Regions from separate parts of the Homo sapiens genome. Here region 2 is linked to region 1. Evidence: promoter capture Hi-C in 16 types of primary human blood cells and fetal thymus (Javierre and others, 2016). All regions are on one chromosome and are shown on one strand. Each heading gives the region's core, a stretch centred on a gene start or on the middle of the fragment in contact. The rest is flanking DNA. Distances are from core to core; before and after follow the strand shown.

The links. The method cuts DNA at HindIII sites, captures the fragments that hold promoters and counts their contacts. A CHiCAGO score of 5 or more calls a contact.
Region 2: a contact is called between a fragment that was not itself captured here and the fragment with the promoter of RGS13 in region 1, in 1 of 17 cell types (total B cells). The highest score is 5.4, in total B cells.

The regions. Positions count from the first base shown.
Region 1 is chr1:192,630,657-192,637,396 of GRCh38, forward strand. It overlaps RGS13 (regulator of G protein signaling 13), which reads left to right and starts at 5,491. Exons shown (of 7, transcript NM_002927.5): 1 at 5,491-5,661. It overlaps LOC107985241 (a long non-coding RNA gene), which reads left to right. Exons shown (of 2, transcript XR_001738348.2): 2 at 3,353-3,894. The HindIII fragment of the contact is 2,675 bases long and covers 4,324-6,740 here.
Region 2 is chr1:194,285,450-194,292,189 of GRCh38, forward strand. All of the region lies in intron 2 of LOC107985242 (a long non-coding RNA gene), which reads right to left. LOC105371670 (a long non-coding RNA gene) reads right to left here. Exons shown (of 3, transcript XR_922390.2): 3 at 5,790-5,931. Among named protein-coding and RNA genes, the nearest start is that of LINC01031, 980 kb to the left of the region's middle. RefSeq lists a silencer at 4,117-4,317. The HindIII fragment of the contact is 5,907 bases long and covers 1,037-6,740 here.

The DNA of each region.
Region 1 (6,740 bases), core at 4,241-6,740:
GCCTAAAAACTTTAGGCTGTTACCTAAACTGAGATAAGAATGTAAGATATACACAATTATCTGATTTTCAACCAGAAGTAAGCCAGAAAGGGAATGAGGACCTTAAAGTACACAGAACGCAGGAGTTAGGCAGCCTGAGTTTTTGACTCAGCTATATCTCAGCTACTGTGTGGCTCAGGGCAACGCACAAGAGATCAATTTCTTTCTTCATTACATGAAAGCTTTGAACTAGATTATCTAAATTTCCTTTAACCTCTAAATGTCCGTGATGGAACTTCTGCTTTAAAATGGGGTTGGAGAAGCAGTCTCTGAAACAAGCTCTTCCACTTCCTACACAGACAACCAACATTTAAATATAAAAATACCTTCCTTATTAGAAAAGTTGCCTTCACAAAGCTCTTTGGCAAAGGTTATAAGGAAAGCAAACAATCGATACAAATTTCACATTTCTATTTACTTTCTGCCTACTCACTTGGAAAAGCAATAAGATGAAATAAATTCCCACTGATCTGGGGGAAAATATAACTAGAATGCCATTTTTCCTAAGTTCCTTTGTTTGGAAGTTTTTAAAAGAGTTAAAACAAGCTTCACGGTTTATTAGATATTATTTTCTGTAGTGTTTGAAAATGTTATGGGGTAAAAAAAGGGCATGTGTTTTTAATGCCCTGAACATTTTCTTTTTCAAACAAAAGTCATCCTTCTTGTGTCTCGGTCCCCGTTGTTCTTCTTCCCATTCTGCCCCTTTGCTCAGCTTCATCTATAAAAATCATTTGTGTAATCTCTATTGGCCCCACGCTGTACATTCAGGATGCCTTATGTAGTTCCAGGCCTCCAGGATTATATTTCTTATAACACCAATCACTCTTCATTTTCCTTTGGATGTTATTTTCTTTGGGCAAAATTACTTTTCCTTTGTGTAAAAATGTTTTAAGAAAATATTTTCCATATCTGCAAAAAGCATGTAGTTGATGCACTAGTTTTACAGTTCTTAAAGCAACTCCTCAAATATTCAGACTTGAGGGGGAATTAAACAACACTTTTTGTATGGAGGAAAGCATACCAAAGTAGGTTTCTGAAGCTTCTGGGATTGCAATTTTTAAAATTCTTTGCCTTTTCTACAAAACTAAACTTGTTTTATCTAATCTTATTTGCATTATCATATCTTTCAGAGGTTTTAAGATATAGTGTCATAATCCTAAAGAAAAACATTTGCCTTGTATTTTATTCTAGTTCCTTGTTTGACTAAGTCACAAGGACACCATTGTTTAAATTTGCATGCCTCATAAAAATATATATTTGTGTAAATTATACTTACAAAGCATCTCCAGATATATCTCATTAACCACTACACAAATTATAGGTTACAAAAAGGTTACAGTCAGAGAGGCAGAACTACTTCTTAGGAAAGTATGAGATATGGGAAGCTTGTACAATATAATCCTTCCCAAACTTCACCCTATAATTTTTATCTAAGTGAAAATTGGTTAAAATGAACATTAGGGTAGTTTTTAGCTTGGATAAATCCTGTTGGGAAAAAAAAACTATATCCATCTATTCTTTGAATATTTATTGAGCATCTACTACATCAGTCTGAATGCTATGTCCACATATGCATTTGAAGCATGAATGAGAAAAGTGGGAGACTCCTTTGGTAAAGCAGGGAGAAGGAATGCAGGCTAATTCTGAGCTCTGCGCTCTTTTAGTCTCTCCTATCAGCTGACTGAGGTACCTATTTCTTTTAAAATGTTCCCTGCCTCTGATTCACTACCTAGCCATCTACTGCCCTCAATCACCAGACACCACGTAAGTCCTGAGGATAGATTTGTTTCAAGAATAAGACAAAAAGTATTTCAATGGTGATCTACAGAAAAACCATTTTAATTTCTGTGATAAGAAAAAAAAAACCGGAAATGTGGCACAAGTATGTTTGTTCTGTACTTCTATAGTAGAAAATTTATATACTTTGCACATGGCAGAACAGGACAGGCTTATCTAAACAATAAGGGATAGTGAGTTGATTAGGTGATTGGAAACAGGCTTCAGCTTTGCAACTGCACATCAGTGGGCCTTGTATGTTCAAAGCATTCCGCATCTAAAGAAGCAAACGATGCTTTCCATCTGTGATAACAAGGAAATGCTAAAGTTCCAATTTCCTTGACATTTTATTGCATTTACTTTTATCTAAAATGAGTATATAACATTATCTTATATAAAAGGAAAGCATGGTAGACGAGACATATCTTGAAAATCTTCTCTCTACCAGACATCCAGAAATGCTAAAAAAAAATATGTAACAACCCCATTTAAATGCATAGGCAAGCTTGCCAAAACTAAGAGAAATCAAGAAAAAAACAGAGGGAATCCTAAATCAGAGTGATAAACTGGCATTTAAAGTTTAGCTGAGTTCAGCATTTGCTAATCTCAGTAACCTAGAGATCTGGCTTTTAAGATCTGTTGCAAGCCAGGAAACAAAATCAAAGGCTGTCCTAATATGAGCCGGGGGCTCTTGAACTGCTATACCTTCAGTGAAACAGCAGACAGAAAAAAAACAAGTCACCTACAAAAATTGATGACAGGAACATGTCTATTTCAGCATAAAACCAGGTCTGTAATTTAAATTTACCCTACCTGTGTGGTCCAGGAGACCCAAGCTAAGAAAATAACAAAGCAGTCTTGTGTTAGAGAAGTGCCTGGGCTGCCTGACAGAGCCAGTGCAAATCCTCTTCAAAGGGACGTGCCCTTAACCCCATCCTTAGAGAATTTCACAGATCAAACAATGTGAAAGTACAAAAGAGCTAATAGACTCATCTCAGTGCAAATTAAACAACTGTGGAGTGTCTCCTTTTTTTTTTCCGGGAAAAGAACACTTTCCTATGTTAATGTTACCCCAAATACACTGGTGGAAACAATAAGATTTGAATGAATTCCCCAGAATTTAGTCAGGAAGGACAAGACAATCCACCAAGTGCTCAGAAGAAAATAGAAACCAAGTAGGACCACTGGTTTTTTCAATTACATGCTGGAGATCTGAAACCTGAGAGCACTGCCGACTTTCTGGAAGGGCCAAGAGAATGGATTTAAAGCAGCTACCAAAAGGGAACTAAGAATGATTGGGAGTTAGTGACTAAACTTTATAGCATAACAGGACCATGATTATAATTAAAGACATCTTTAAAGCAAATCATCTGAATAAATGCACACAGAATTGGTAACTAACTTTAATTGCTACTGAGGTTTATTTTATGCTAACAATAGTGTTCAATGCTCAGTAATCTCTTCCTAATTTTTGTTGTCGGTATATTTTGGGTTCACACAAGTCAGAAACCAAAGTTAGATTGTTTCTAATTGGCAGCAAACCAGAGGGGACGGGAGACTGGTCAAGTCTCTGAGTCGTCCACTCCAAGATGCGGACAATGAGTGTATGAAGACAGACTGAGAATGCGCTGCAAAGAAGCTTGGAAGAAAATGAAGGCAGAGAGGACAGACCTGAAAGGCTAAGAGGGACAGATCAGCGTCCATGGAAAGCAGGAGCAGAAGCCAGTCTTCTTCCAAACACTGGCACAAACCACTGCCTACTGGATACATTTCACCAGACAATTCACCCCAGTGTCCAAGAGTTTATCTTGCTTCTAGAATATATTGAAAAGAGCCACCCTCTGAACAAATGGCAAACACTATATAGTATAAATAGGATGCACTGAAAATAGTAGGCTTATTTCTTAAGCTGTCATCACGAACATTAACCAGTAATTATATTTCTCCACTTTTTGTAGAAGACATAAATGGCAAATTCTGAATTTATAATTTCTAATACTTCATTTTTCTGCTCTTGTAAAGTTCATTTTGAACTTTCAACATAAAAATATTAAAGATTTTTAATTGTGCACATTTGAACTTGTGTTACTTTGGACTTACATTGGCTGAAATTGAAATATAGTAAAAGTGCTCTAGAGTAAGCAGATCAGTTCATCAGAAGGACAGCCTTTCAATGGAAAGGGCATTCCCAAGCTGCACCAACGAAAGCATAATCCTGTTACCTGCCCTAACCTGACAGCTCTGAATTAGTCTGATCCACCTATGTGCCGTACAAAGCATTATATTGCTATGATTTCATAAACTGAACTTGAACTACACTTTTTCAGAGAAACAAAACCATGTTTAGAAATCTGCCACAAATATCTACACATTGCTCTTGAATTCCTCCAGGAATTTCCACCTACTCGTGCTGTTACTCTTCACTCTATGATTTATTTGTTTTTCAGTCCCTGTCGATACTTAAGTTTTACTCTGTAGGGAGATTCTCATGTTTGACTCCATTAAACAAGCTTTGAAACTGACACTCGCACAGGGTGTTACTTCCAGAATCTTCCTGCCAGCTCCTTGCATCCACACCATGAGAAAGAGCAAACATTCCAAATCCCAAAAAAATGAATTATTTGGGGTGAGGAAAAGTCTTGACTATGACACTGAAGATTTCCTGAAGAGATCCAGCATCCAAAATGTCCTGAGTGGGGAGGAAATCGCACACCTAGCACCCAGAGAAAATGAGTGCTATCCACAAACAACCCAGATCCTCCCAAGCTGAGGCTAACCTGCCCTTCACTTCCTACATTATTGCTACATCTACGCAGCTTCTGACTTTCCAAAGTTTCCTTTCCTTTTCTAGTCCCAAACTTATCTCTCAGGTTTGAGAAATTCAATTTTCTTGGGTTTGAATCTCAAAATTATAAAAGACAAGTAAGGTTAATCTTCTATCTCATTGGGCCCCTAAATATTTTAAGAAACACTCCATCAACCACATTTTGATCTTCTTTACTGCTGTTTTATTCTAGCATTTCTTTACTCCTACCTCTCTGTTTCTCTCTCTCTCTCTCCCCCCAAACCCCCCAACTCCCCCACCCCTCCCCACACACACACACAATTGGAGTAAATCCAGGACAAGGGCATTCACAATCTTACCATATTCTGTATTCATTAGACCTTATCTTAAGCACTGTGTTCAATTCAGATTTTGAAGGCATGTTAACAAACTGTAGAACAACGGAGTCCAGAACTGCTGTAGAGGACCAGTTGAAGGAACTAGAGAGGTATAACTAGAAAAGATACTTTTTTAGATCCTTCAGTTGTTAAAAGTCCCTAGTAATCTATTACAAACAGATTGATTTTAATAGTTCTCAACCATTTGCTAACATGTGTTTGCAGTGATGTCCTATGTGTTTGTACTCAGTTCTCTGTCTTTTTTAAAAGGGAATTTTACTTTAGACTATACATTTTCTAAAACTAGAAAAATTATTTTGGAGAAAAAGATTTGAGTATTACTTTGAAGATTTCATGAAGCTGCTGCTTCCAATCATCTGATCACTTCAGATGGTCTGATAATGTTAGATAAAACCTCTTTATCAGTAATGCACTGGAGTCCTACAGCACTACTTTCCATATTCAACAAAACCTCTCTTTGCATAGATACGTGTGTGTAAAAACAGAACATTCATACTGAGGCCAGAGTGCCATCGAAGGTAATTATAGAGACAGTAAAATCCTTTTACTCTGGGAAAAATAAAATGCTGGGTGTCTCACAAAATTTCAGAACCTGATTTCAAACGGATCATAACAAAGAGGAGATCAAATTTAGCATGGTGGACTGCTCGACAGGATATATTTGTAAGTATGAGATTCTATAAAATAGTTGATAAATACAAGACTATTGGCTTGCTATAAATCACTAGCAGATGCTGATTTCAATGGTAGAACTTCTGGGAGTGTTAACAGAGGTTTTTCTAAGAAAAAAAGACAAACTAACAAACACATATTCTTTTGCCTGGCTTTCTATATTTAAAACAAAACTTAGAGTCACTCCTTATATAAATAAATCTTCTAAGTTGGGCAACAGAGGAAATGCTACAGTTTTAAAGTATATTATTTCATTTTATGTTTTTGTGTATATTTTCATTTTAAATGTTTTTCATTTTATATGTTTAGATAAAAACATATTATAAAATCAGACATAGCTGAATTATTTGTTTCAAAAATCATGCATTACCAAATTATTAGTTCCATCCTTTGTTAACTGTACTGAAGCCAGGTGTGGATTATTATAAGGTTTATCTGAAACATTGTTAATCTTGATTTTGTAGAATTTTTTTATTCTTTTATGTTATGCTTAAGCACAACTATGCACAAATTTCTTGAATTTTTTAAAGGACAAGAAATTTGTGTGCTGTGGTCAACAAAAGCTCACTAAAATATAAATTGCTCCAAATTTTACTAAATTTTATGTAACATGCTATATCATAAAATAAAGAAACATATTTAAATGCAGATATATGTAAACAGACAGAATTGCTTTAAGAAAATTTATTTATTTTCATAATACTTTAAGATTTCATTTAAATAATGGAGGAAACAAATCTAATTCTGGCATACTACTAATACAACTCAATCCATTACCAATGCATTTATAATCACTCTGAGAATTAGATTCTATCGGTGAAATGTATTTCTTTCAAATAATTATCAGGAGAAAACAGTGGAGGCAAAATCATCGTGGAGACCTAAACTTGTTCTAAACACTCTATGTTTCGATTGTAAAAGTACACACTAGTTTTACCAAGAGGGTATTGAAAAACAAAAAAGGAAAGCAAATTAATACACAATATTAAGATAAATATAGATTATTTAAATAAAAAGTAATGGAAAATTACAAATTAAAACAGTAAAGAAATTTTTATAATAAGCCATGA
Region 2 (6,740 bases), core at 2,740-5,239, 1.7 Mb after region 1:
AAGACATTTATTGGATAAGTTCCTGTTGTTTCCCTTTGCTTCCCTGATAGTATAAGAATTTCAGCTTTATAAACCCTGCTTTTATTTTAAGAAGAAAACAAATTTGACATTCTCTCCATGAAGCATGTGTAGTCTCTAACCTTCTGTTCTGAAAAGTTTAGTTAATAGAGTACATTGTATGTTCCAAGCACTACGTGTTTGATAACTTAATAAGTTCTGGTACTGACATTTGAAGGCCTTGCAGTTTAGTGTAAATTTTATTGTATTCACAGTCAAAATCACAACATCAATTTGATGTTCAAATGTTTTATTACTTCCTAAATGATTATTTTTGTACAATTAGATTTGAAGCTTCGTGAGAAAAATAAAATTATCTTTTGCTACTTCACAGATCAGTAATAATTTTTGATTCATCTCTTAAATTTCTAGTGAAATCCAGATAATAGGTCAAAACTCCAGATGAATCATCCTTGGTCTTCTGATTTCTTTCTCATCACACATTCTGTCTATTACAAAATTATTTTGGCTTTGCCTTCAAAATATGTCTAGAATCTGACCAGTTTTCTTTACTTCCACTGCTACAGTAGTTTAAACCACCAACATCTCGCACCTAAAATACTAGAGGAACCTTCAAAAAGGTCTCCTTTATTCTGCATTTTCACCTCACAAACCATTCCCAATATCACATCCAGAGTAATCTTGTTAAAATGTAAAGGAGGGAGGTCAAACCTCTGCTTAGAGCATTACAATGGTTCCTAATTTCACTTATAGCCTAAAATCTTCATAGTCACTTTCAACACTCTTTATTACCTAAAATACCCCTCCTTCTTTCCCCTCTTCTTAACTTTAATTCTAACTATTTTTTCCCTCATCCACTCCATCCACATTGACCCCTTGCTAATGTAAAACATATGAAGACAATAGGTATTTGCTTTACCTGCTATCTCCACTACACAATGCAAATGCCCGCCCCACCCCACCCCACACTCTCAATTTCCCTTATTTTGTACTAGTTTTTCTTTTCATGGGCCTTATAAGCTTCTTACTGGTATCTTATTGGTACTTATCTTGGTTCATTGGTATTTCTCATTAAAATGTAAGCTCTACAAAGCAGAAGTCTTTATACATTTATATTGTATATTTTTACAGAGATTTCTGCAGATAGATCTGTGATTAGAATAGAGCTTGGCAAATATTAGGTTATCATTAAGTTATTTTAATATGAATAATTAATAAATGAATGAAAAAGTGAGTGATTCTGAAAAGCAAAGTCCCAGAGTTATATATATTTAAACAATGTAGATATTTGAATTTTCAATCAGAAATCACAATAATCCTTACAATTTATTTTATTTTATTTTATTTTATTTTCGAGACAGAGTTTCGTTCTTGTTGCCTAGGCTGGAGCGCAATGGCGCCATCTTGGCTCACTGCAACTTCTGCCTTCTGGGTTCAAATGATTCTCCTGCCTCAGCCTCCTGAAAAGCTGGGATTACAGGCATGCACCACCACACCCAGCTAATTTTTTTGTATTTTTCGTAGGGACGGCATTTCTCCATGTTGGTCAGGCTAGTCTCGAACTCCCAACCTCAGGTGATTCACCCGCCTTGGCCTCCCAAAATGCTGGGATTACAAGCATGAGCCACCGTGCCGGACCAATCCTTACAACTTTAAGGATGTTTTTCATTCCTACATATTATTGAATTTATGTACCAGTTTAATGACAGAAGTAATTTTTTTTTTTTTTTTTTGAGATACAGTCTTGCTTTATTTCCCAGTCTGAAGTGCAGTGGCATGATCGTAGCTCACTGCAACTTCTGACTCCTGGGTTCAATTAACTCTCCTGGCCTCAGCCTCTGGAGTAGCTGGTACTACAGGTGTGCACCACTGCATCTGGCTGAGTTTTTGGTTTTTTGAAATTTTTGTGGAGACAGGGTCTTGCCATGTTGCCCAGGCTAGTCTCAAACTCCTGGCCTCAAGTGATACTCCCACCTCAGCCTCCCAAACTGCTGGGATTACAGATGGGAGCCACTGTGCTCATCCAGAAGTAATTTTTGAACTAAAACATGGCAGATCATTCCTGATTTGCCTTGAGAATTGCAAGACCTCTCCTCATAAAATATATGAGAATGGGAAAATAGCCACAATATGCCATTATGTACAGACAAATCCAAGAAGGAATTTATTCAGAGACCCAGAAACATGGAAAGTAGGTTGATTATACGGGGATAGATTTCAATACAGAACATGAAAAAAGACTTGAGAAAAACACAAGAATCTATGTGGGAAGTCGAATATCATTCCTAATAATGCAATTTTTTAATTATTAAGTATCCAGAGTTGCAGTTACCCAATCCCAGTGTACTAGATAAATGGGAACTCAGAAATAGTGACAAAAGCAGGAAGAAAATCATAGTAATTGGGAAGAATAGGCTAGGAGTTGGATGTGTAAATCGCATTTCCTGACTGAGCACTGTGCAACGTGGCCATGCCACAGTAGAGGTGCAAAATGGTGGCTGCTCATTTGGCCTCTTCCCACTCCAACAGCATTCTTTTTTTATAGTGTCTATTTTGAATCATGTAGTTTTCATAACCTATACCCTGATATTAATTTAATGATATAAAATAATGCAAATTATTTTATAATTGCTCTATGATGCATTTCTTTACAAAAGACAGTGGATTTGTAAAGACATCCATTTTTATATCCTGTTGTCTTCACAAACCCACTCATGGCTACTGGTCAACATATCAATTAAAACCCTATAGGAAGAGCCAATAATTATGTTTACTTATATTCAGGGCAATGAAAATGTCAGCACATTCAGCATCCTTATACGATTACAACCTTCTGTATACTTCAGAACACATATGACAGGTAATTTAATATCTGGCATAGTGGAAAATTCCAGCAAATCTAACAACTCCCTAATGGCATCTTGCCACAGATGTTTAATAGGGGAAGAGAATGTATCAAATCTGTATTCCTATTTAAGTCCTAGAGAAATGAGCTTGTTTATTTATAGCAAAACAATGCTTTTACAGTAGCACTTAAAATATATTGCCTGTCAGTTTTAATATTTATTATGACATAAGTGACTGATAGAAACAGGAAGAAATAATATTTTAAAGACAGAAAGATACAGCTTTGTTGAATTCTTTCTGAGACTCAGGTTAAGAAAGCTGTAAGTGACAGCTACTTTGAAGGAAGAATATTACTTACTAGAATTTCAAATAATGAAAATAATAAAACAGATAAAAGAAAAGAAAACTATTATTTTCTTTCAGACTATAAATTTCCACTTCTATGTAGACGACAAATCACTCATCGCTCTCTAGCATGTATGCAAACAGATAGATTAAAAGCTAAGTAACCAAAGAAATGGAAAGATCAACTTTCTTGTGACAGAACATCCAAAAATGTCAAGAGGTAACTTTGGGAAAAGAGATTACAAGAGAAGACTGAGCACATTTCATTTCCTCCCTCCTTTCTTGAAGGAGATAATCAGTCATGAATATCATCGCTTTTTTTTTTCCATTTTCTCCTTTTACAATTTTGAGTTGATTTTGCCCTTTGAAATCACTTTCTCTAACCTCTCCAGTAAAAACCAATACCTGAACTAAAATAAAATAAAAAACTTAAAACAAACATTTATATTTAAATCCTTTTTAGTCCAAATTTGGGAAGAAGAGAAATAGCATAAAATAATGGCTTGTTACAGATGTATTTTTCTATTATTATTATTTTTTAAATTTATAACTTTTATTAACAAAACAAACTGAGGAGAAGGGCCAAAGAACACTGGTTTTGGAAGTTGGATGAATAAGTAAGTGATAGAAACAGGGTTAAAATATCAGTAAACATAATTTTCCCATGGGTAACTTCATAAATGACTAAGTAAGAACTGATTAAGTATTTTGGTTTGCATTGTTAAAGATTATGAAACTCAAAAAATTTACAAGCCTCTTGAAAATCTTAAACATACAATATTTAAAAATATGCAGCTGGTTCTTGGGGAAATATAGAAGTGTCATATAAATGCTCATTACAACATATTTCAAATTATAATAATGCTGATATTTCTAACAAAACACAAGAGCCCTTGTGACCTGCTTCTATCCAAGTGTATCTTTAATCTCACTTACCTTTTTTATGTATGCAAGTGGTACGATGGAGATGTAGGGCTTCATGAGAGAGACAATGCATGCAGGAATGCACCTGCATTGCCCCTGTTATGCAGCTAGCAGATGGAAATGTGGTTAAGAACTTCCTCTTATACCAGAATGTTTGCTCAGAAGGGACTGTCCCAACTTAGGCGCAGGTGTAATAAATCAACTAAATGTCCTTAACTTGACTCAAGCTCATTATAATATCATTAGCATGACATCTGCATTGTGGTTTCACCACCACCACCCCTACTACCCACTGGGCCTTTCTGTGGTGCTTATGCATAATAATTAAGATGGAATAACTATGGACAAGAACGCACCTGGGCAGTAAGAACTGGGACCAGGAAGCAACTAGGAAGTAAAAGGTTGTGCAAGATGCAAATGAGAAACACACCCCTAGAAATGAGGTTTTTAATCCCCTAGGGCAACCCACTTTTGAGTCCCCTCTCCTTACTGAGCGCTTTCTGTCACTTAATAAAGTCTATTCTGCCATACTCACCCTCCTATGTCCATGTACCTCATTCATCGTGGTGGTGAGACAAGAACTCAGACCTCGCTAAGCTAAGGAGTAAGGCTTCTGCAACAGAACAAGCCAGAATTTCCTACATGAAATATTTATTTTCACATCTTTGTGATGTTCTGACAGTGTGCTGAAGGAAAATGACTTTTTTCCATTCTTTATTTTAAAATTTTGTATTTATTATTAAAGACTCATATTAAGTATTTCCTTTAAACTCCTTTCCTGGATCTCTGATATGAGTTGAATTTACCTCATTTACGATGGCAACCTAAACATACCATTATATCATCACTTAGTGTACTGTATAAAAATCTGTTTTCTATGGGTTACCTCTTCTACTAGGCTATAAGATCCCTATTTTGATTAACCTGGCTTTACTTACCTCTGTCTTTCAGTGTCTAGAATGTGCTAAAAATTTTTATCATAACATAATGAGGTCATTCTTAGTACTAGACAATTGGTAATAGGGTCCAGCCCCCTTGGTACCCATGGAATTAGCAGTTAACTTTTTGGCTCCCACAAGTAATGAGATTTATTGTACACCATCATCAAAATAATAAGTCTTAAAAAGGAGTATATCCTGCAGATGTAGAAACTTTACTACACATTATAACTACATCTTTTTGCCTCTGTTTATTCTGAAAGAAAAGCAATTTAACCTGATGTTTTAACGTCATGTGGTGCATACTATATAATATTAAAGCATGTAAATGGGGTGGTGGTGATCAATGCCTTGATAAACTTAGTTAGTGGTTTTCTTTCAACAGGCAAACCTCTAGGCTTAGTGTAAAGACGTTCTATGATATTTGTTCTAACCAGGACTAAGTCACTCCTTGTATTAGTAAGAAAATACTGTGGAAGACTAGAAACAAGGTGGTGGGGGTAGGGGTAAAAAGAAGAAGAGAAGGGGCGAGGATGAGAGGGAAGGAAGGGGAGAGGAAGAGAGGAGTAAGTGGAAGAGAGAGAGAGGAGAAATAAAGACACAGAAATAAAAAGAAAGGGAAATAGAAAAGATGCTTTCTTCTTCCTTCCTTGCTTGCTTGATTGCTATCTTGCTTGCTTTCTTTCTTTCTCTCTTTCTTTCTTTTTCTTTCTTCTTTTTCTTTTTTCTTTCAATGAAAATGTGTCATAGGAACAAATGTGGTGTTCCCTCTGAGACAACTACACTCCCAGGTGCCTCTTCCAACACATTTTCGTTCTCTTTTTATCATGGCATAGACAATTGTCAGCACTGCTGAAAACTAAATACAGAAAAAGTTGGTTGAGGTTATACTATTCCTTTCATGCTACAATGATGTAACATCATTAAGATCAAAGGGAATTGTTAACTTTCCTCTAATAATAAAAAACACACAAAAATACTGAAACCTTGGATAGGCTTACGAACATTTTAAAAGGCAGAATAACTTTCCCTTACTCAGGATAAATTTTGCCTCTTATCTCTAAATATTATCCTACTGTTTGACAAGAAATAAAAAAATTACTAAATCTTTCACATCCCATATTTTACTGCTGTCTATATTTTACATTTGATATAAACATTTTACAGCAGGTATTGTACACTGAAATTTGGATTCATTTATCTCATAAAAAGGAATACAAATGATGGATTGAAACACCCTGGTATCTAAAATTCTAAAAACATTAATATTTTTACTGAAAGTTATAGATTATATTAACACCAGGGTATAGTCAGTGAAAATACTCCCTACAGTTTAGTGTCAATAGTCTGAACAGCAGTCAGTTTTCCATAAAACATGAAAGCCAACAAATTCTGTTATTGGGTAACAAGCTGATCTAAGCCTAATCTATAGTTATTTACTTGAATGGTACAAGTGGATAAAAACATGTAACATCTTTTAAATGCTTATAAAAAATTTAAAGATAAATGCTAGTTTAATTATAGTCATATGCAAATAGGTTTTATTGTTAATACTGAATATAAAGTATAAAAACATAAATTATAGTCTTATGATAGAGACAAATGTCAGCCTTAATTGATGACACTCTATAAGCAATTTTCTGCTTGTAACATTTGTTTTAATTTTCT